Linked DNA regions of Homo sapiens: region 2 is linked to region 1. The links are contacts of gene promoters, found by promoter capture Hi-C in human tissues and cell types (Jung and others, 2019). All regions are on one chromosome and are shown on one strand. Each heading gives the region's core, a stretch centred on a gene start or on the middle of the fragment in contact. The rest is flanking DNA. Distances are from core to core; before and after follow the strand shown. Region 1 holds the start of PDCD1LG2 (programmed cell death 1 ligand 2). Region 2 overlaps PLGRKT (plasminogen receptor with a C-terminal lysine).

The links. The method cuts DNA at HindIII sites, captures the fragments that hold promoters and counts their contacts. A contact is called where the count stands out against the background at its distance.
Region 2: a contact is called between a fragment that was not itself captured here and the fragment with the promoter of PDCD1LG2 in region 1, in 1 of the 25 tissues and cell types used here (thymus).

Annotation. Positions count from the first base shown.
Region 1 is chr9:5,507,841-5,512,453 of GRCh38, forward strand. It overlaps PDCD1LG2 (programmed cell death 1 ligand 2), which reads left to right and starts at 2,691. Exons shown (of 7, transcript NM_025239.4): 1 at 2,691-2,963. All of the region lies in intron 2 of INCR1 (interferon stimulated noncoding RNA 1), which reads right to left. RefSeq lists enhancers at 1,239-2,438, 2,380-2,459, 2,520-2,579, 2,740-2,789. The HindIII fragment of the contact is 28,529 bases long and covers 1-4,613 here.
Region 2 is chr9:5,360,103-5,364,715 of GRCh38, forward strand. It overlaps PLGRKT (plasminogen receptor with a C-terminal lysine), which reads right to left. Exons shown (of 6, transcript NM_018465.4): 4 at 1,656-1,786; 5 at 976-1,085. Among named protein-coding and RNA genes, the nearest start is that of RLN1, 23 kb to the left of the region's middle. The HindIII fragment of the contact is 8,856 bases long and covers 1-4,613 here.

The DNA of each region.
Region 1 (4,613 bases), core at 1,441-3,940:
AAAGGGAATGCTTATACACTATTGGTGGAGTGTAAATTAGTTCAACCATTATGGAAAGCAGTGTGGCAATTCCTCAAAGAGCTAAAAACAGAACTACCATTCAATCCAGCAATCCCATTACTGGGTATATACCCAAAGAAATGTAAATCATTCTATCACAAAGACACATGCACACACATGTTCATCATAGCACTATTCACAATAGCAAAGACATGGAATCAACCTAAATGCCCATCAACGACAGACTGGATAAAGAAAATGTGGTACATATACACCAAGGAATACTATAGAGCCGTAAAAAAGAGCATGTCCTTTGCGGGAACATGGATGGAGCTGGAAGTCATTATGCTTAGCAAATTAATGCAGGAACAGAAAACCAAATACCACATGTGTTCACATATAAGTGGGAGCTAAGTGATAAGAACACATGGACACAAAGAGGGGAACAACACAAACTGGAGCCTAGCTGAGGGTGGAGGCCCCAGGGAGGAGGGAGATGAGCAAAAAAAAAAAAAAAAAAAAAAAAAAAAAAAAAAAAAATGACTGGGTTCTAGGCTTAGTATCTAGGGGACAAAATAATCTGTATGACAAACCTCCATGACACGAGTTTACCTATGTAAAATAAAAGTTTAACAAAAAACTAAAAAAGTTACCTATGTAAAACAAAAGTTTAACAAAAAACTAAAAAAAGTTACCTCCACCCAGAAATGCCTTTATTAACACTTTGGTTTGTAACCCTCCATTATTTTCTCTAGACATATAGATTTATGAGGCAGGCTAATGTGCTGAGACACTAGCTTGAGTTTCATTTGGCCTTGCTGTGAATATACCTGGGCCTTCCTTTGCTTCAGGATGCCCTAAACTGTGGCAAAGCAGAGCTGAACTGCCCAAAGGAAAGTGTGAAGAGGAGAGGCAGGCCAAGCCTGGAGAAAGGCTACCCAAGAGAGAGGAAAGGAAACTGTGGTGAGTGCACCTCACTCCTAAAGAAGGACAGGAACTCTGGTAGGTGAGGTGTGTTTTCCATAGATACTAAAACTCAAAGCCACACAGGGGACATATGTCCATTCCTCAGCCAGTCACTGTGGCCAGGAACAGAGGGTCAGGTAAGAGAATGGCAACTCCTAAGGAAACCACATGCCTGGAGCCGTGGGTGTAGAAGCAGATCCCCAGAGGAAGCACGGGTCCCACAGACACAGTCCCAACTCTTGCCGTCTAGGCAGCCACTCCCATCTGTAGGTACTACACAGCTTCGTAGTACTTCTTAAAGTACTTCTTGTTCAAGCGATGGGACGAAAAGAGGATGCAGGACAAGGAGGAGGAAAGGAGATCCTTGCTTTTGTAGAAGAAACAAGGAGGCAGGGAAGGCTTAGAGGACAGGCAAGGAGAGATGTTTTCTTAAAAACATCCTCTGTCTGAGTGTTCAGCCCCACATCTCTGCTGGTCCTACCCCTATAAGCACAAGGAAAAGGGCGGGAGGCAGCAGGAGAAGGATTGATCATTCAGGCCTATATTCAAGTTTGCCTTTTCTTGCCATGTGGTTTTAATCTCACCAATCACAAGCCTGAAGGTATAGTGGGGCCACTGAGGTCCGAGTTCAAATTCAGCCATGCAACTAAGGAAACATTGTTTGATCTTGGTCCTGTTTTCTCATGTGTAAAATGGGTCTAACTCTAAACCACACATTGCACTGAGAATGAAATGAGGCACTATGAAATGAAGTGAGGTTAGTTGAATAATGTTCCCCCCAAATTCATGTCTACTGAGGACCTCAGAATGTGACTATATTTGGAAGTAGGGTCTACGCAGATGTAGTCTAAATGAGGTCATACTGCATTAGGGTGGGCACTAATCAAACGGATGGTATCCTCATAAGAGGAGAGGAATGTAGAGATACACACAGAAAAGAATGTCATTTGAAGATGGAGGCAGAGATTGGAGTGATACAACTATAAGTCAGGGAATGCCAAGGACTTGAGGTCATGTGTTACAGAAGCCCTAGGAAATGAGTCAATTTCCTGGCACAGCACTAAGACATGCTGGTATTCTTCATTCCATCCCTTTCCCCTATTCCTAAATGTGCTCCAGGGACAATGGGGAAGCTGGAGCACATATAAGAATAGGGGAAAGAGAGGGAATAAAAGGGTATTAAAAACTCTCAAGGTATGTTAAAAAAAAGACTCTCAACAAACCAGGTATTGAAGGAACATACCTCAAAATAATAAGAGCCATCTATGATGAACCCACAGCCAACATCACACTGAATAGGCAAAAGCTGGAAGGATGCCCCTTGAAAACCGGCACAAGACAAGGCTGCCTTCTCTCACCACTCCTATTCACCATACTATTGGAAGTCCTGGCCAGAGCAATCAGGCAAGAGAAAGAAAGAAAAGGCATCCAAGAAGGAAGAGAGGAAGTCAAACTACCCATGTTTGCAGATGACATAATTTTATATCTAGAAAATCCCACAGTCTCAGCCCAAAAGCTCCTTAAGCTGATAAACTTCAGAAAGTTTCAGGATCCCACATGAACATACAAAAATCACTAGTATTCCTAAACACCAACCATAGCTAAGCCAAGAGCCAAATCAGGAATGCAATCCCATTCACAGACAAACTGCTAAAAGCAAAACCAAAACTTTCCAAATAAGCCAGGCTTTCGTCAGTTCCTCAGAACTAGTTCTGGTTTGACTCACTCTCATGTTACGGCAAACCTTAAGCTGAATGAACAACTTTTCTTCTCTTGAATATATCTTAACGCCAAATTTTGAGTGCTTTTTTGTTACCCATCCTCATATGTCCCAGCTAGAAAGAATCCTGGGTTGGAGCTACTGCATGTTGATTGTTTTGTTTTTCCTTTTGGCTGTTCATTTTGGTGGCTACTATAAGGAAATCTAACACAAACAGCAACTGTTTTTTGTTGTTTACTTTTGCATCTTTACTTGTGGAGCTGTGGCAAGTCCTCATGTGAGTAACGAGTGGGTTGAGATACTCTCATACTATTATGTTGTGGACCATGATGAGGCTGCCAGGGTGGGGGAAGGGTGGCCTACCTTCTCTCCACACCATTTGAGGCAAGAGACATTCTGCCTCAGAAATTGTGCTGAGGGGCACAAATAAGCTAATGTCCTCCTGCCCCAGATTTCTCTCACTTGTTCCTATGCATATTGTTCTTGTTGCTCAGTTTTATAAGGTGAGATATTTTCTGCACCAAATATGTGCACTGTAAAATAATATAACTATTCTTAAGATTGTCTCTCAGCTTAGAGTTTTCGGAGGCTTAATGGTGAAGAACTTAAAAATCTGTTTTCCTATGACTGACATCTGTTTGTGATTATCCATTTAGCAGACGGTGATCCCTCCAGGCTGGCCTTTGTTTACAAGCTATGCCTAAGAGGCAGCTGTTGGTGGAGGGGGAACAAAAACAAAAAACCCAAAACTATTATCTTAATAACTTATAGAGGTAATCATTATTGAACAAAAGCATGATTTGGGGACTATGGAAAGGCTTATTCTTTCCATATAAAATGATCAGCGAAAAGGTAGAAAAATTAAACAGAACTGAAATAATTGCTATTGATTGCTCACCGCCTGGATGCACTGAGTAGAAGAGCAAAGGCAATGGGTTCATGTGGAGGGGATGGAGGTGGAGAGGCTAAGCCTGAGTGAGATTACCAACTAATCAGGACTTTTAACCCAAAAATACTATGGCTCTGAGGGGCAGGGAATGAGAGACCTAAATTGACAAAATGCAGAGTAAAAATATTCAGTGTGAGCAGTAATGAGACAGTTGTATCAGGGTCAAATACGGAGTTGGCCTGGATGTCCTCCAAGCTCCTTTCCAAGCCTAAGATTCTGTGAGTGGATGAACAATCCTGGTCCTGCTGCTCTTGCCACTGGAACCTGATCTATTTGCCTTCATTATTTGAGGTCTCCCCATCATCAGGCTCTTTGTTGTCTGCTGCTTCAGGGTGTCTTCTCCCCAGATTTCTCCTGTTGGTGAGCTTTTCCATTGAACTGGAGCTCCTCACAGGCAAGAAGCACACCTTTAAGGTTCTCTGAGTCCCAAGTTCCTAGTGCAGTACCTGGCAATACACATAGGTGCTTAGTGGGTGCTTGCCGAATTGTTGAATGGATTTATTTGATGAAATGTCAGGAGAATCACCAGAAATGAAATGTTCGTGTAATGGACAGGGGGAAGTTTGAGGTTGATTTGAAAAAGGAGATGGTAGAGACAGTATTATGGGTCATGCTTCAGAGTTTATTTGCTTTACAATACATTGGACAGCAACCAGTAGATTGTTGTGTGTCATTTTAATTCCACATGCTAATGTCCAAATATGTCATATGTCTTAATTGTTGCATACGTGGGTTACTCTGTAAAGGGGCAACTGTAGTATCACCTCCTCATGCCACACCCTGCTCCACTGTAGCTGGGCTCGATAACCTTCAAATCAACTCACAGAATTCCAGGACAGACAAGAGCATCTGAAAGGTTATCTAGCCCCAGTCACCTCTGATGCCTTCCAGCTGTCTCTAACACACCTGTGGGCTGACTTCCAGTTCTTAGTCTTCACGGCTCCCTATGATGAACTGCCCCTGCTTTGAGGGATTTTC
Region 2 (4,613 bases), core at 1,130-3,629, 150 kb before region 1:
TTTCCTTCAAGACAAATGTTGGAACTTCATTTATTTGAGAATGATGTAAACAACTTATTTGCTGAACTGGATAATAGTTTTTCAATATTAGAAGAATATTTCACCAACTTTTATGCTACTTACAATGTAATAGTTACAGACAAAGCACACTTTTAAGCTTAATCTGCATTATTAGCATTTTCTTCATCAAGTTTTAAAATCTAGACCATAGGTTGGCAAACTGTCTTAAAGGGCCAGACAGTAAATATTATAGGCTTGTGGACTCATGTTTCTGTTTCAAGGATGGCTCTGTCATGGTAATGGGAAGGCAGCCACAGACAATACATAAATGAATGAGCATGGATGTGTCCCAATAAAACTTTATTTTGGAAAACAGGTGGCCAGCCTCAGGCCATCATTTTTCAACCCCTGGTCCAGACAATCAACAAAATAAGAAGTCAAGCCTTGATTTGGCAACAACAGATTTCCATTGTGTAAATATTCCCACCAAGACCAACTTCAGGCTACCAATGGGATGTCACTGAAACTGGACTGTAGCTGTATTTTGTTTTGTCTGTGTATTATATCTGCATTTCTATCACATAGATACAATAGCTATAAATAACCAGAGTATGGATAATAGTAAATATTTAGAAACAGATGAGTTCTGTTTATTACCTTTGTTTTAAACACAATTTAATATTATTTATTTGCTGTAATTTATTTATTGCAAGTTTATAAAAGTTTTAATACATTAAGTGACTATGTTTAACAACCAGCTTACACAATCCCTGAAAATGTAGCGATTGGTTCTTGTGAGCTGGTATGAGCTGGCTCTAGGACACCACTGTGTGAAAGGGAGCAGAAATGTTGCTCATTGGAGGTTCAAAGAGAGAGTCTTGTCAGAATCTTTATAAGTCAAAGGTTCCTAAGGCAGGGATCCTTGAAATGGAAAATAAATCAGCAAATAGAAACTCTAGTTTACCAAAGACTTACCTTTCATTCTTTCTAAAAGGGTTCCATAGCCCAAGTCATACTGGTAGGTGAGGATAAAGCTTAATGGAACAATCGGGACCAGGAAGGCTGGCTTCTTTTTTTTAATCGCTCTGTTTCAAGAATTAAAAGAAGAACCAATATCAAAAAATAACCTGTAAATACATATCTGTATACTTAAAGAAAAAAAAATACCTGCTTTTTGGAAGAATGCCTTTTCCTTCAGAAGTTACTTAACACATTTGATAATTCTATGGAAATAGGATTTCCTTACCCAATACCCCTAACCAGATTCTGCAGTTCTCAAGGGCAAGGTCTGTGACTTGCTCATCTTTATTTGACTCTGAAGCTCAGGTTCCTTGTTTTTAAAATGAGTAAGGATTGGTATCTACCACTAAGGGATTGTGGAGATAAACACATAGAGCCCTTCTTGGTGTCAAGTTGGTGCTCTCTCTCTCTAACTAATAAAGTAGAGAAAAAGACAGAAGCAACCTAGGAAACTAAATTAACTGTTACTGCCTTGCTTTCACAGAGTTACCCCCAAGGACTAAGGTTAATAGGTTACTTTGGTTACATACACTATTTGGACCAAAGTCTTATTCTGGCCAACTTCATAATAAAATGGTAATGGAAAACACAAAAAGAAGTAAATGACTGAAGAAAATGTTAAATAGCAAACATACCCAGCTGTTAAAGAGATGGCTGCAAGGCCAAAAAAAGTTCCAAAATATTTGAGGAATTCCCGAGACCACGCAATCTGCATGGCCATTTGTCTTTCCCTCATTTCACTCTGCATGATGAGCTGCCTTTCCAGCTAAGGACAAAACAAAAGACAAAGTAAAGTTACTCATCTTTGGAATCTGAACAAATAGTTAATAATCTGTTTTTCCAGCGGATTCATTCTTCAATTGCTTTAATTCATGTTTTTTCAAAAAAATCTCAACAGACTTTGACTAAAGTTCCTTTGGACAGCTCTCACCAACTGTCACCTTGGCAGTGAAATCTTCCTGGAATAAATACAGAATAAATATCAATATTCCATTTTTACACCCTGAGGTCTTGACTGCCTGTGGTCTGGAGCTTTAGCCAAGTCTCAAATAAATGTCCAGCTTTTCCTATTGGATGTGTGGAAAGATCTATGGGTCTTTAAATGTAGATACATCTTATTGGCCTTTATTTCTACTTGCATGGAAATCTGCCTTCCAAATCCATTCCAAATTGAAATTTATTTGGAGTATTTATTTGCTCCATATCATACCACAATATCATAGTAGATGGGTGTTGTTTTGAGACATCTATAGAGATTTTTCTTTGCCACATTTTTCTCGCCTCAAGTTCTTCACCACTTTGTTCAGTGCCTTTCACTGCTTTGAACAGAAGGCAGATGGCTCAGAACAGAGAAGGAAACTGAATTTCTAAATTGATTTTTAGAAAATACTCAGGAGAAGCAACTGTCTGTAAACCCAAGCCCATTATTTGAAGAGAGTTATATTCTTGACAGAGAAAAGTGTTGTTGGCATTGTTGTTGATGTTTTAATTCTAAAATCTTGGCACTACATGTCATTAGCCAAGCTAGAGGGCAATACACAGGGAGTTCATGATGCAAGGAAGAGGAGAGGAAGGACTAATAATGTGATTTAGTTTTCCCTCCATGCCCTCTTTCTACTGAGGGGAGTAGCTGGGAGGGGCGAATGATAGTTTAGATGTAAAGATGGGGCTTGGCTCCTTGGCCTATTTGGGAGGTTAAATCACCAGAAGATATGACGGAAGCCTCAGATGGGTTTGGGAATCCCTAAACAGAGAAGACTTGTGGCCTTGCTTCCTGCGGAGAATTCTGGGAGGGAGCAGCTACAGCACAGCAGAAATGGTTTCAGGGCAGACCTTGCAGAGAGCACACCTAAGAGAGGCCGCTTCCATCTCCCTCAACAGCCAAGGGGTGTGGAGGAAGTCTGCAAGGTTCTCACATCAGCTGGAGAGGGGCACAGAAGGTAACTGCGGATTGAGAGCAGGGGGACTACCAATGAGTCCAAAACCTAGAGCCAGCGGACCCCATAACAGACACTTGGGGAGTGAACATAAGCCAGTGGCTGGGTGGGGAAGGCCACTCACTGGATCCCAGAGGATCAGCAGCACCCGAGAGTGCTTTTCTGCTTTGTTTTCTGTTCAATCAACCTGGACAGCGCCACATGATGTTCCCTAAGGGCATGTGGCCATGTTCCAGGCTGGCGTAACCATCATCGCCATACTCTCAGGTGCTACTGATCCTCTGGGATCCAGTGGCCTTCCCCACTCAGCCACTGGCTTATATTCACTCCCAAGTGTGTGTTATGGGGTCCCCTGGCCCAAGGTTTTGGACTCTGGTAGGCCACCTGCTCTCAATCTTCAGCTACCTTCTCTGGCCCTCTCCAGCTGATGTGAGAACCTTGCAGACTTTCTTCACACCCCTTGGCCGCTGAGGGAGACGGAAGTGGCCTCTCTTAGGCATGCTCTCTGTGAGGTCTGCTCTGAAACCATTTATGCTCTGCAGTACCTGCTCCCTCCCAACATTCTCCACAGGAAGCAGGGCCATAATTCTCTGTCTGGGGATCCCCAGATGCATCTGGCTAGATGTGCCTTCCCTGATGCTGGTGCCACCTGAGATCACCTGGACCCAAGCCTAGGTCATACCAGGGAAAAGATGAACGGAGAAGGGGAGGAGGAAAGCTGAATTCAACTATTTTCTCCCAAAGAACCGAGTTTTAAACTAGAAGTAATTGAGTAACTTTGACTTGTCAAAATTAAATTTGCTGTCACCAAGAGAAACTGAGGTTCATTTTGAGTTCAATTAGAGTTTAAAAATAGATGTGTTTTTGCACAAGATTAGTGTGTGAAATTCATCCTTGCCACATTACTTATTTACAAAACTTACATACTGATTCATCATATCCCCCAAAGTGATGTAAATACAGCAATTAATTATTTGTGTTTTTATCAAAAGGCAGCAAACAAGAAATAGAGGAGTCCAGACTGGTTCTAAACCTTTGCTGCACATCATGAGCATCTGGGGAGATTTTCAAAGGTCTAGTAACCAGATATACCTCCCAGACCAACTAAACCAAGTGGGATCAATTAAGTCAGGATCTGGAGGTAAAATCAGGCATCCATAATTTCTAAAGGCTTCCAGATAGTTCCCGTGTGCAGCCGGGACTGAGAACCGTCACCTGAAATGAAAGACTCATAGCTCATATTTTTTTTCCCACAAAAGATCAACCTGAGATATCAACCTGAAAGAGATTACCTGGGAACTCTCAAAAGATTGTGAGCAGAGGGGCTTTCAGGGTGATGGAGTTAATCTGTATGGTACTATCGTGGTGGATACATGACATTCTGCATTTGTCAAAACTCATAAAACTTTACAGCACAGAGTGAACCTTAGTGCATACAAATTTTACAAATCAGCCAAAAGGGCAAGGGATGCACAAGATGGAATGGGGACTGTGACAAAATAATCTGACTGTGCTACAAATGTGTGGCACAACCTCAATGAAGGGTTGGGGGAAAAGAACTGATCTATCTTTGGAAAATGGTATTTTGACTAAAAACTGTAAAACTAAAGACAAAGGACTATACATAAACACTGTACTCTAGTGAGTAAAACTGTC